Linked DNA regions of Homo sapiens: region 2 is linked to region 1. Evidence: promoter capture Hi-C in 16 types of primary human blood cells and fetal thymus (Javierre and others, 2016). All regions are on one chromosome and are shown on one strand. Each heading gives the region's core, a stretch centred on a gene start or on the middle of the fragment in contact. The rest is flanking DNA. Distances are from core to core; before and after follow the strand shown.

Region 1 (4,138 bases), core at 1,543-4,042:
CAAGAAGGAATTCTGAGTGGAGAGGGGTCAGCAGGGGTGGCCTGCTGTGATGAAGAGCTGGCCTTGCAGCCTAGGGAAAGAGAAGCACATTTGGGTTGAAGGAGTTTGGAGAGGAAAACTATTATGCCCCTGGAGGCTAAGACCTCCTCCTCCAGTGGATTCTGAGAAGTGTGTGTGTGGCCGGGCCTGAGAGTAAAGAGGGAAGAGAAAGAAGGCCCTGGAGGTGGCCCCACCAGGTAGGGGGTGCAGCCCCTCCACGCCATTGCTTCATGCTTTGCCTTGGAACCCAAGATTTCTAAGTGGGAAAACAAAAAAACTCAATGAGGAGGTCCTATGTCAGCCCCTCCTTCCACTACAGAGTCTCCCCCCCGGGACAGTGTGTCCGAGGGGTGGGGGACTGCGGGGAAGATCCCAGAAACGGGTAAGCGCACTCACTCGGCCTCCCCTGGAGACTCCTCAGGAGGGAAGTAGCCCAAGCCCTGCTCCCCAAAAAGGCAGAGCCCCAGGTGTCAGGACTCCAGCATGGGGAGACAAAACCACGTGCAAGAAAGCAGGGAGGAGCAGGGGTAGGAACTGAGGGTGCTTAGGGTCTGGCCATGCCACTGACGAGCTGTGTGACCTTGGCCAGGTCACCTCCCCTCTACAACAACAGAGGGTCCTCTTTCCCCCTCTACAACAACAGAGGGTCTGACTGGATCAGAGTGTACCCAAGGGCAGGATGTGTGCAGCTGACAGTGCCCAGCACATGGACACAGTATGAAGTAACATTGAATCATATCCTGTGAATGTTTTCAAGCCTTTCAACTCCTTTCCAAAACTTGCTTAACAGCATGGATCTGGAGCAGAACTGCTTCCTAGACCAGCTCCACGGCTTGTGAGCTGAGTGACCCTGATCCTCACATATTTCTGTACCTCCATTTTCTCATCTGTAAAATGGGAATAATGATAATAGCTATCCTGGAGTCACTGAGAGGATTAAATGAATGACTATTTGTGAAGTCCTTTGCATAGTGCCTAGCATTCGACATGTGTTAGCTATTCCTCTACCACACAGAAGGCTTTGCTTGGTGCTAGGGTATCTTTAACACATGGCACCTGCTAACCTTCCATGTTACCAAGAAAGCAGGCAAGCTATGCAGATGGAATATAATGGAATGTAATAACATTGTTTTCCTCTCACTTGATTCTTTTTTAATTTTGATTTTAATTTTAATTTTAATTTTTTTGAGACAGGGTCTCATTCTGTCGCCCAGACGGGAGTGCAGTGGCACAGTCTCAGTTCACCGCAATCTCCTCCTCCCAGGCTCAAGTGATTCTCTGGCCTCCTGAGTAGCTGGGATTACAGAAACATGCCACTACTGCCTGGCTAATTTTTGTATTTTTAGTAGAGATGGGGTTTCACCATGTTGGCCAGGCTGGTCTTGAACTTCTGACCTCAAATGACCCACCCGCCTCCTCACTTGATTCTTAAGGCTTATGGCAAGTGATACTGGCCTAGTTACAGACCTAACATGGATAAACTTTAAGTTTAAAAAGGTTAAAGAGGGCCGGGCGTGGTGGCTCACGCCTGTAATCCCAGCACTTTGGGAGGCTGAGGCAGGTGGATCACGAGGTCAGGAGTTTGAGACAATCCTGGCCAACATGGTGAAACCCTGTCTCTACTAAAAATACAAAGATTAGCCGGGTGTGATGGTGTCTGCCTGTAATCCCTGCTACTCAGGAGGCTGAGGCAGGAGAATCGCTTGAACCCAGAAGGCGGGGATTACAGTGAGCCGAGATCGCAACACTGCACTCCAGCCTGGGCAATAGGGTGGGACTCCATCTCAAACAAACAAACAAACAAAAAAAAAAAAAAAAAAAAGGGTTACAGAGGTCGAGTGAAGTAGCTCACACCTGTAATCCCAGCACCTTGGGAGGCAGAAGTGGGAGGACTGCTTGAGCTCAGGAGTTCACGAACAGTCTGGGCAACATGGTGAACACCCGTCTTCAAAAAAAATAATTTTTTTTTAAATCAGCTGGGCATGGTGGTGTGCATTTGTGGTCCCAGCTACTAGGGAGACTGAGGCAGGAGGATCATTTGAACCTGGGAGGTGGAGGCTGCAGTGAGCTATGATTGCACCACTGTACTGCAGCCTGGGCAACAACAGAGTGAGACCCTATCTCAAAAACCAAAATAAAAAACTCTATTTTATTTTATTTTTACCAGATGTGATATTCGATAAAGAAAAGCATTAACACTAAAGTATTATAAGTTTTGAGGGGTGTTTTGAGGATATCACAGAATTCCTCAAGCTGGTACCCAGTGACTGGAGTTTGGCAAACCCTGGTAACCTCATGGTCATTCATTAGGATCTTTTTTGAGCTCAGGCAACAGGACAGACAAGGCCAGCACCACCCGCCCCCGCCCTCCCACTGCCCCCCTTCTTCTACTCTTTCCAGCGCCCTCCTTCCAGCCCCCTGCCCAGCCCTGTGCTCAAAGCCACCTACAGTCCCTTCTTCTCTGGTCAGAATGCCAATCATCCAAGGCCCTGCAGACTCCCAAAGCCGCCCCTGGAACCTACCTTGGCAGCAGATTAAAGACAACCCGCCACATTTAGTCTCGGCCCCATGACCGATAGTGGGTTCAGTTCCTCCAGGGGCGGGGGAGCCTAGTGGCCCCGCCCCCTGACTCATGGCCTGACCCTCCTCAAACGCACCCAGAGGAGACTCCTGGTCCCCTGTCCGGACCCCGCCCCGACCAGGTCCAGCCCCGCCCAACGGCAAGTTAAGAGCCCCCCAGTGCCAGACGCTCCAGACAGACTGCCACTCTTGGGGGGCAAGAGTTGGTTGTCGTCATGGCGACGGCGCTGATGGCTGTGGTTCTGCGGGCAGCTGCTGTAGCCCCGAGGCTGAGAGGCCGGGGAGGCACTGGGGGCGCCCGAAGGCTGAGCTGTGGCGCGCGGCGGCGGGCGGCGAGGGGCACCAGCCCGGGGCGCCGGCTCAGCACCGCCTGGTCGCAGCCCCAGCCCCCGCCCGAGGAGTACGCGGGCGCGGACGACGTCTCCCAGTCGCCCGTCGCCGAGGAGCCGTCGTGGGTGCCGAGTCCCAGGCCCCCGGTGCCCCACGAGTCCCCAGAGCCTCCTTCGGGCCGCTCGCTGGTGCAGCGGGACATCCAGGCCTTCCTGAACCAGTGCGGGGCCAGCCCTGGGGAGGCGCGCCACTGGCTCACGCAGTTCCAGACCTGCCATCACTCCGCGGACAAGCCCTTCGCCGTCATCGAGGTGAGCGGAGCCCGGCGTGGGCCGTGACGCAGCGAGGGGATGGGGTTGTGCGGCCACCTGTCCTCAGGCATGGCAGGATACGCTGCGGGCTCTGCGCAGCGGAAGCGGGAAGGAGCCCGGCAGGGCCCAGACCAGCGCCGCCGGGAATGGGAGAGGCCGTAAGCTCCTCCGGAAGCCTCCCGCCCAGCCCGAGTGAGGATCCTGGGGGACCCCACCCGCCAGGTGTGATGCTCTGAAGAAGGCCCCCAACATGGGCGCAGTTAGGGGTTCAGAAGGACCTGGACAGGAGCCGCTTGCACTGCCCCTCCCCCAAAGATGTCCCGGAGTCCAAGGTCGGAGGGAGGAGGGCGGGAGGTACCCCAGCGTGAGACAAGGGAGTGGCAAGACCCAACGGGGCAAAGGGCGGAGCAGGTGGGCACTGGTGGCCAGAACTGGGTCCTGACAGCTTCTGGAAGGGTAGGGTCACCGAGACGGCCCTGCAGGCCAGGCTGTGGGAGCCAGCGGCTCAGGTCCGTGTCACGCTCCTTGAAAGCCCACTCCTCCGCAGGTGGACGAGGAGGTGCTCAAGTGCCAGCAGGGCGTATCCAGTCTGGCCTTTGCCCTGGCCTTCTTGCAGCGCATGGACATGAAGCCGCTGGTGGTCCTGGGGCTGCCGGCCCCTACGGCTCCCTCGGGCTGTCTTTCCTTCTGGGAGGCCAAGGCGCAGCTGGCCAAGAGCTGCAAGGTGCTGGTAGACGCGCTTCGACACAACGCCGCCGCTGCTGTGCCATTTTTTGGCGGCGGGTCTGTGCTACGCGCTGCCGAGCCGGCTCCCCATGCCAGGTGAGTGCCCGCCCTGCCCGCCCAGGCGTCCTCAGAGCGTGCTACTCTGCCCGCCC
Region 2 (5,057 bases), core at 2,213-4,712, 130 kb before region 1:
GCCACCCAGAAGGAATGCTGAGGGCAGTCACGCCCCAGGCGCAGTGTTTGTGATTATCTACAGGCACACCTGAAGCCTGTTAGCAATTATGTGAACCTGTGATAAATCAAGCAGCTGACCAATGGTTACCTGCTCTTCCCTACTCTTTCTACCCAATAAATATGGAGGGCTGTGGAAGCTTAGGGCCCTTGCTCACTAGAAGCAAGAAGCCCCCAACCCCTTCTTTAAAACAGATTCTTTTGTCTTAAGTTTTCATTTCTGCGTTCATCCTCTTTTGTTCAGTCCCATAGTAACTGTCACAAGTGGTGCCCAAACAGGGATGAACAGGGATAGGGACAGACAGGGACAGATAGAGACAAGCAGGGACTTGCAGGGACTCGTAGAGACTAGCAGAGACAGACAGGGACAGACAGGGACACGAACGAGGAGGGTCCGCTGGAGCAGAGAAAGTGAAACTGGCCAGACGAACGAGAAACCCCAGAACGAGTCTGCTGGCAGTGGATATAAGGTCAGTGCCCTAAAAAAGTACTGGGATATAAGGTCAGGTCCCTAAAGAGGTACTGGGAGCGGGAAGTTTCTGAATCAGGGTAACATGGGGCAGAATTTGTCCATTCTTTCTGTTTTTTCTGTTTGGGGTTTGGTCTGTACTGTCCTTTTGTCATTATTTCAAAATTTGAAAGAATTTTTTGCCCCACCCACAGCACCTATCAAGGGCGGTGAATAGGAGAGGGAGGGTGAAGATTGGCCTGTACCGTCTTCTTTTGTGGCTGCAGAAATACTAACTTTAACTTTGGCTTTGAGAATGCAAACGTGGATTGTAAGCATGCACTGGCACCTGTGAGATGTACAAGAAGCTTAGGAAATTTTCTCAGAGCTTGTCAAGATGTGGGAATTGAGCTTCATCGCTCTACAATGTTGGCTCAAGCAATGGCTAGTTTAGTAGTTGATAAACCTAAAAGGAGCCAAGGGTCAAACCCTAAAGTGGGAAAGTGTTATAATTGTGGAAAAATTGGACATTTCAAAAAAGAATGCCGTCAGATCTCTGGAAAGAAGGGATCTTATAATACAGTTCCCTCCCGCACAATAGAAAAAAACACCAGGACTTTGCCCTCCTTTGCAATAAAGGAAATGATTGGGCTAATCAATGCCATTCAAAATTTCATCAAAACAGCACCCCCCTGTGGGGAAATGAGAAGGGGGCCTGGATGTGGGCACCTCAAACAATGAGGGCATCCCCAGTCCAGCCCACAACTCCGTTTCAAGGGTGGGTTTCCGGAGGCACATTGATTCCCTCTCCCCAGGAACACCTGGAAGCACAGGATTGGGTCTCCCAGTCAAAGAATGTGTTACTTTAGTTGGAGGAGACAAATCCACGAAGATTCCCACTGGGATTTGTGGACCTTTGCCAACAGGATACATGGGATTAATTTTAGGCAAAAGCTGTCTTAACTTACAGGGCATTACTGTAGTCCCAGGAGTTGTTAATTTGGATTATGAAGGAGAAATTCAAGTAGTGGTAATGTTACAAGATCTTTGGGTTTTGAACTGGGAGAATATATTGCTCAACTGTTGCTTATCTCCTGCAAATTACACCCTTCTCCACGAAAGAAGAAACAAGGGAATCAAGGATTTGGAAGTACAACTCGGAGGGACATTTATCTATCACAACCAATAGCATCTAGTAGACCCACTTGTGCAGTGCAAATTAAAAGTTTTGTGGGCTTATGGATACGGGAGCAAGAGACTGGCCTCTGGCAGTAATGGATCTTGGAGATTTTTTTTTTTTACTATACCTTTACACGAGAAGGATAAGCCTCGATTTGTTTTCTGTGCCTTCTGTTGATTGGAGAAAGCCTGTTTCTCATTATCAATGGAAAGTTTTACCCCAAGGCATGCTCAGCAGTCCTACGTCATGTCAGCATTTTGTAGGAAAAGCATTAAGGAACCTCAGAATATGTTTCCCACTGCCTATAGATTTACTAACGTGGGGACGAGGGTATGCTTATGTTTTTATAGGAGATGGACAAACCATGTGGGTGCCCTCAAGGTGTGTGCAACCATGGAACAGGAGACTGGAGGGACCCATGGATCCCAACCATGGGCCTGGTTCCCCTGGTATGAGCCATGAGCCAGTTGAATCTGAGTGCAAAGACAGAGTGAGGACTGACCAGAGTCACACTGACATCAACCCCCATAACATGAGGACAGATTTTGTTCAATTAATGTAAAAACAAAAAGGGGGAGATGTTGGAGGCCGAAAGAATGAGGGTCATGATCAACTCAGTATACCACTGGAGGCTGTATGAGCAAACTGTTCTCATAATGCAGAATGCTGGCAAACTGACAAACTGCGTCTGCCACCCAGAAGGAATGCTGAGGGCAGTCACACCTCAGGCGCAGTGTTTGTGATTATCTACAGGCACACATGAAGCCTGTCAGCAATTATGTGAACCTGTGATAAATCAAGCAGCTGACCAAAGGTTACCTGCTCCTCCCTGCTCTTTCTACCCAATAAATATGGAGGGCTGTGGAAGCTCAGGGCCCTTGCTCACTAGAAGCAAAAGCAAGGACCCCTTCTTTAAAGCAGATTCTTTTGTCTTGTTTTCATTTCTGCATTTGTCCTCTTTTGTTCGGTCCTGTAGTAACTGTCACAAGTGGCGTACATCCTCCTTCATTCAGTCCCATAGTGACAGTCACACAAGTGCAGGTATCTTTTTGGTGGAACGATTTCTTCTCCTTTGGGTAGATGCCCAGTGATGGGATTGCTGGAATGAATGGTAGTTCTATGAGAACTCCCCAAACAGCTTTCCACGGGGGCTGAACTAATGTACGTTCCCACCAATAGTGTATAAGCACTCCCTCTTGTCTGCAACTTCACCAGCATCTCTTATTTTTTGACCTTTTAATAGCCATTCTGACTGGTGTGAGATGGTAACTCATGGTAGTTTTGGTTTGCATTTCTCTGATGATTAGTGACGTAAAGCACTTTTTCATACATTGTCACTTGTATGTCTTCTTTTGAGAAATGTCTGTTCATGTCCTTGGGTACAAGCACTTAGAAGGAGCATCTTCTGGGGATGGGGGAGTGTGCAGGGGCAAGACAGAGGAAAGGAAGACATCGCAGAAAACAAGACATGTTGCTCTGACTTCCATTCTAGTAGTCATCTGTGCTGTGCTCCCCAGCTCTCACTCTCTCCCAAAGCCATCCATCCAACCCCAACCAAAGAAAAGCAGAGCCAGAAGCCTTTGCTTTCACATTTAATCCAAGGAAAAAGAAAGAAAACCAATCAGTGAGAAAACTCAAGAATTGGATGGCTGAGGGAGGGAACAGAGGAAGCGCACTGGGGCTGGGACTGAATATGGACAGTGGATGGTAGGGTCCTCACTCTCTTGAGGTCCCTCAAATACAAGAGTCCACAATGGCAGGGAGGGAGAACAGAGTCATAGAGCTGTGGTGGGGGCACACACCTGTTCCAACCCAGCCCCAGCCCTGTTCCAGGTGAGCCAAGGACTGACAGCCTCTGCTAGGTACCTGGGAGGGCTGTGGAGTGAGGGCTCAGGCAGGGGAGGTAGGAGGCTGCTCAGAGAGGAAAGACCGAGAAGAGACAGGAGGGAAGGGCCCCAGGCCTGCCCCTTGAGCATCCCTAGCAGTGAAGGTGCCATGAAGGCCAGGTACCCAACCCATCTCCATCAGAGATGATGGTCATTTGGATCAAGGGGGCAGAAGCAGCTGCAACAACAGATCTTCCCCTGCCTCTACCCTCAAATCCCCCAGAGAAGGTAGGAAATGGCAAGTGACCCTATAGCCTCAGGTCAGCAAGAAAACACCCCATTTCCTTCCCACTCCCTTAGGCTGAGGGTGATGCAAGGCAGAGCTGAATCAGGATGAAAGGACACTGACTAAGGGAAAAGAGGAGCAGGAGAATGAGTGTGTAGTATACGCAGAGCCACACCAACGAGATGGGGGCAGGCCTGGCCTTTCCACCCCATGTGTATAGTCTATGCAAATGCAAATGAGATTCCTAGTATAAGAAATATATTCTAACATTTGTAATAAATATTCTGTTTATTCTCCTTCCCCTTCCCTAGGAAATGGGCACACAGTGGTTCAGGGGCCAGCTTTGGCTGACGCTGCAGCGAAGACTAGTTAGACACTTGGAAGAACTGGGAGGCACAAGGGTTTGGACTCAGGGTGTCACAGGTTGTCCCCTCTGAGGACAGGCTCCCCCCGGAAGGAATGCAGAGAATAATGAAGGATGAGATGCCCAAGTACATCTAGGACAGCATTCTTTCTTAAAGGGAGTCTCCTATTTTACAAAACTGCCCTCCCCAAGTTATGGCAGGGGGGCATTTAGGGTAGGGGGACAATAAGACAAGGGAGGAGACATCAGGAAAGGACCAGGGCTTTGGAGTCTGGGATCAGGGTATTATAAGAAATGAGGGCTGATGGGGAACCCCCAGAAAGGGGCCCCAAAGAGTGACCTCCAAAACAAAACCCTTTGCTTCCTCCCCAAATTAAACCTGACACACACACACACACACGCACGTGCACACGCACACACATACACACAACCTGGTGCCAGAGGCACAGACAGGTGCCGAACATGCACGTGGAACCACAGGTTGTACAGACTACAGTGTAAATGGCGCCTCTGGAGTTGTGTGTGAGGAACCTCCTGGAGGGCAACTGTCCTTCAAGCCCAGGCTCCCAAGGTCCCCTCTGCACTCCTCCTTAGCCCCTCCAACCCAGCAGCCCTGATGCAAGTGGGCTACCTGGACCTGGCTAGACAGAAAACCAAATGGACCAAGGTCAAGGACATAGAGCTCAGACCTGTGCCTGCTGTGGGCCATGGAGAGCTTGGGGCTCTTCAGTTGGTAACAGCAGGTTGTCACAGGGCTCAGCCCTCCATCCTGCCCCTACCTGGGCTGAGCCCACTGGCCCCTGCCAGCCTGGCCCTGTGGGGAGCAGGGCTGACCTGTCAGGACACATTGGAGAAATCTGGAGAAACTTCGGCAGTGAGAAGCTGTGGATGAGGGAAGGACCGAGCAGCATCTGC

Evidence for each region. Contacts are between HindIII fragments. The CHiCAGO score rates a contact against its expected background, and 5 or more counts as called.
Region 2: a contact is called between a fragment that was not itself captured here and the fragment with the promoter of NAGS in region 1, in 2 of 17 cell types (naive CD4 T cells and endothelial precursors). The highest score is 8.9, in naive CD4 T cells.

What each region holds. Positions count from the first base shown.
Region 1 is chr17:44,001,830-44,005,967 of GRCh38, forward strand. It overlaps NAGS (N-acetylglutamate synthase), which reads left to right and starts at 2,793. Exons shown (of 7, transcript NM_153006.3): 1 at 2,793-3,260; 2 at 3,808-4,082. The coding sequence starts at 2,835. It also overlaps a transcript of PYY not described here. RefSeq lists an enhancer at 3,716-4,138. The HindIII fragment of the contact is 18,802 bases long and covers 1-4,138 here.
Region 2 is chr17:43,872,115-43,877,171 of GRCh38, forward strand. It overlaps MPP2 (MAGUK p55 scaffold protein 2), which reads right to left. Exons shown (of 13, transcript NM_005374.5): 13 at 3,246-5,057. Among named protein-coding and RNA genes, the nearest start is that of CD300LG, 27 kb to the left of the region's middle. The HindIII fragment of the contact is 5,220 bases long and covers 853-5,057 here.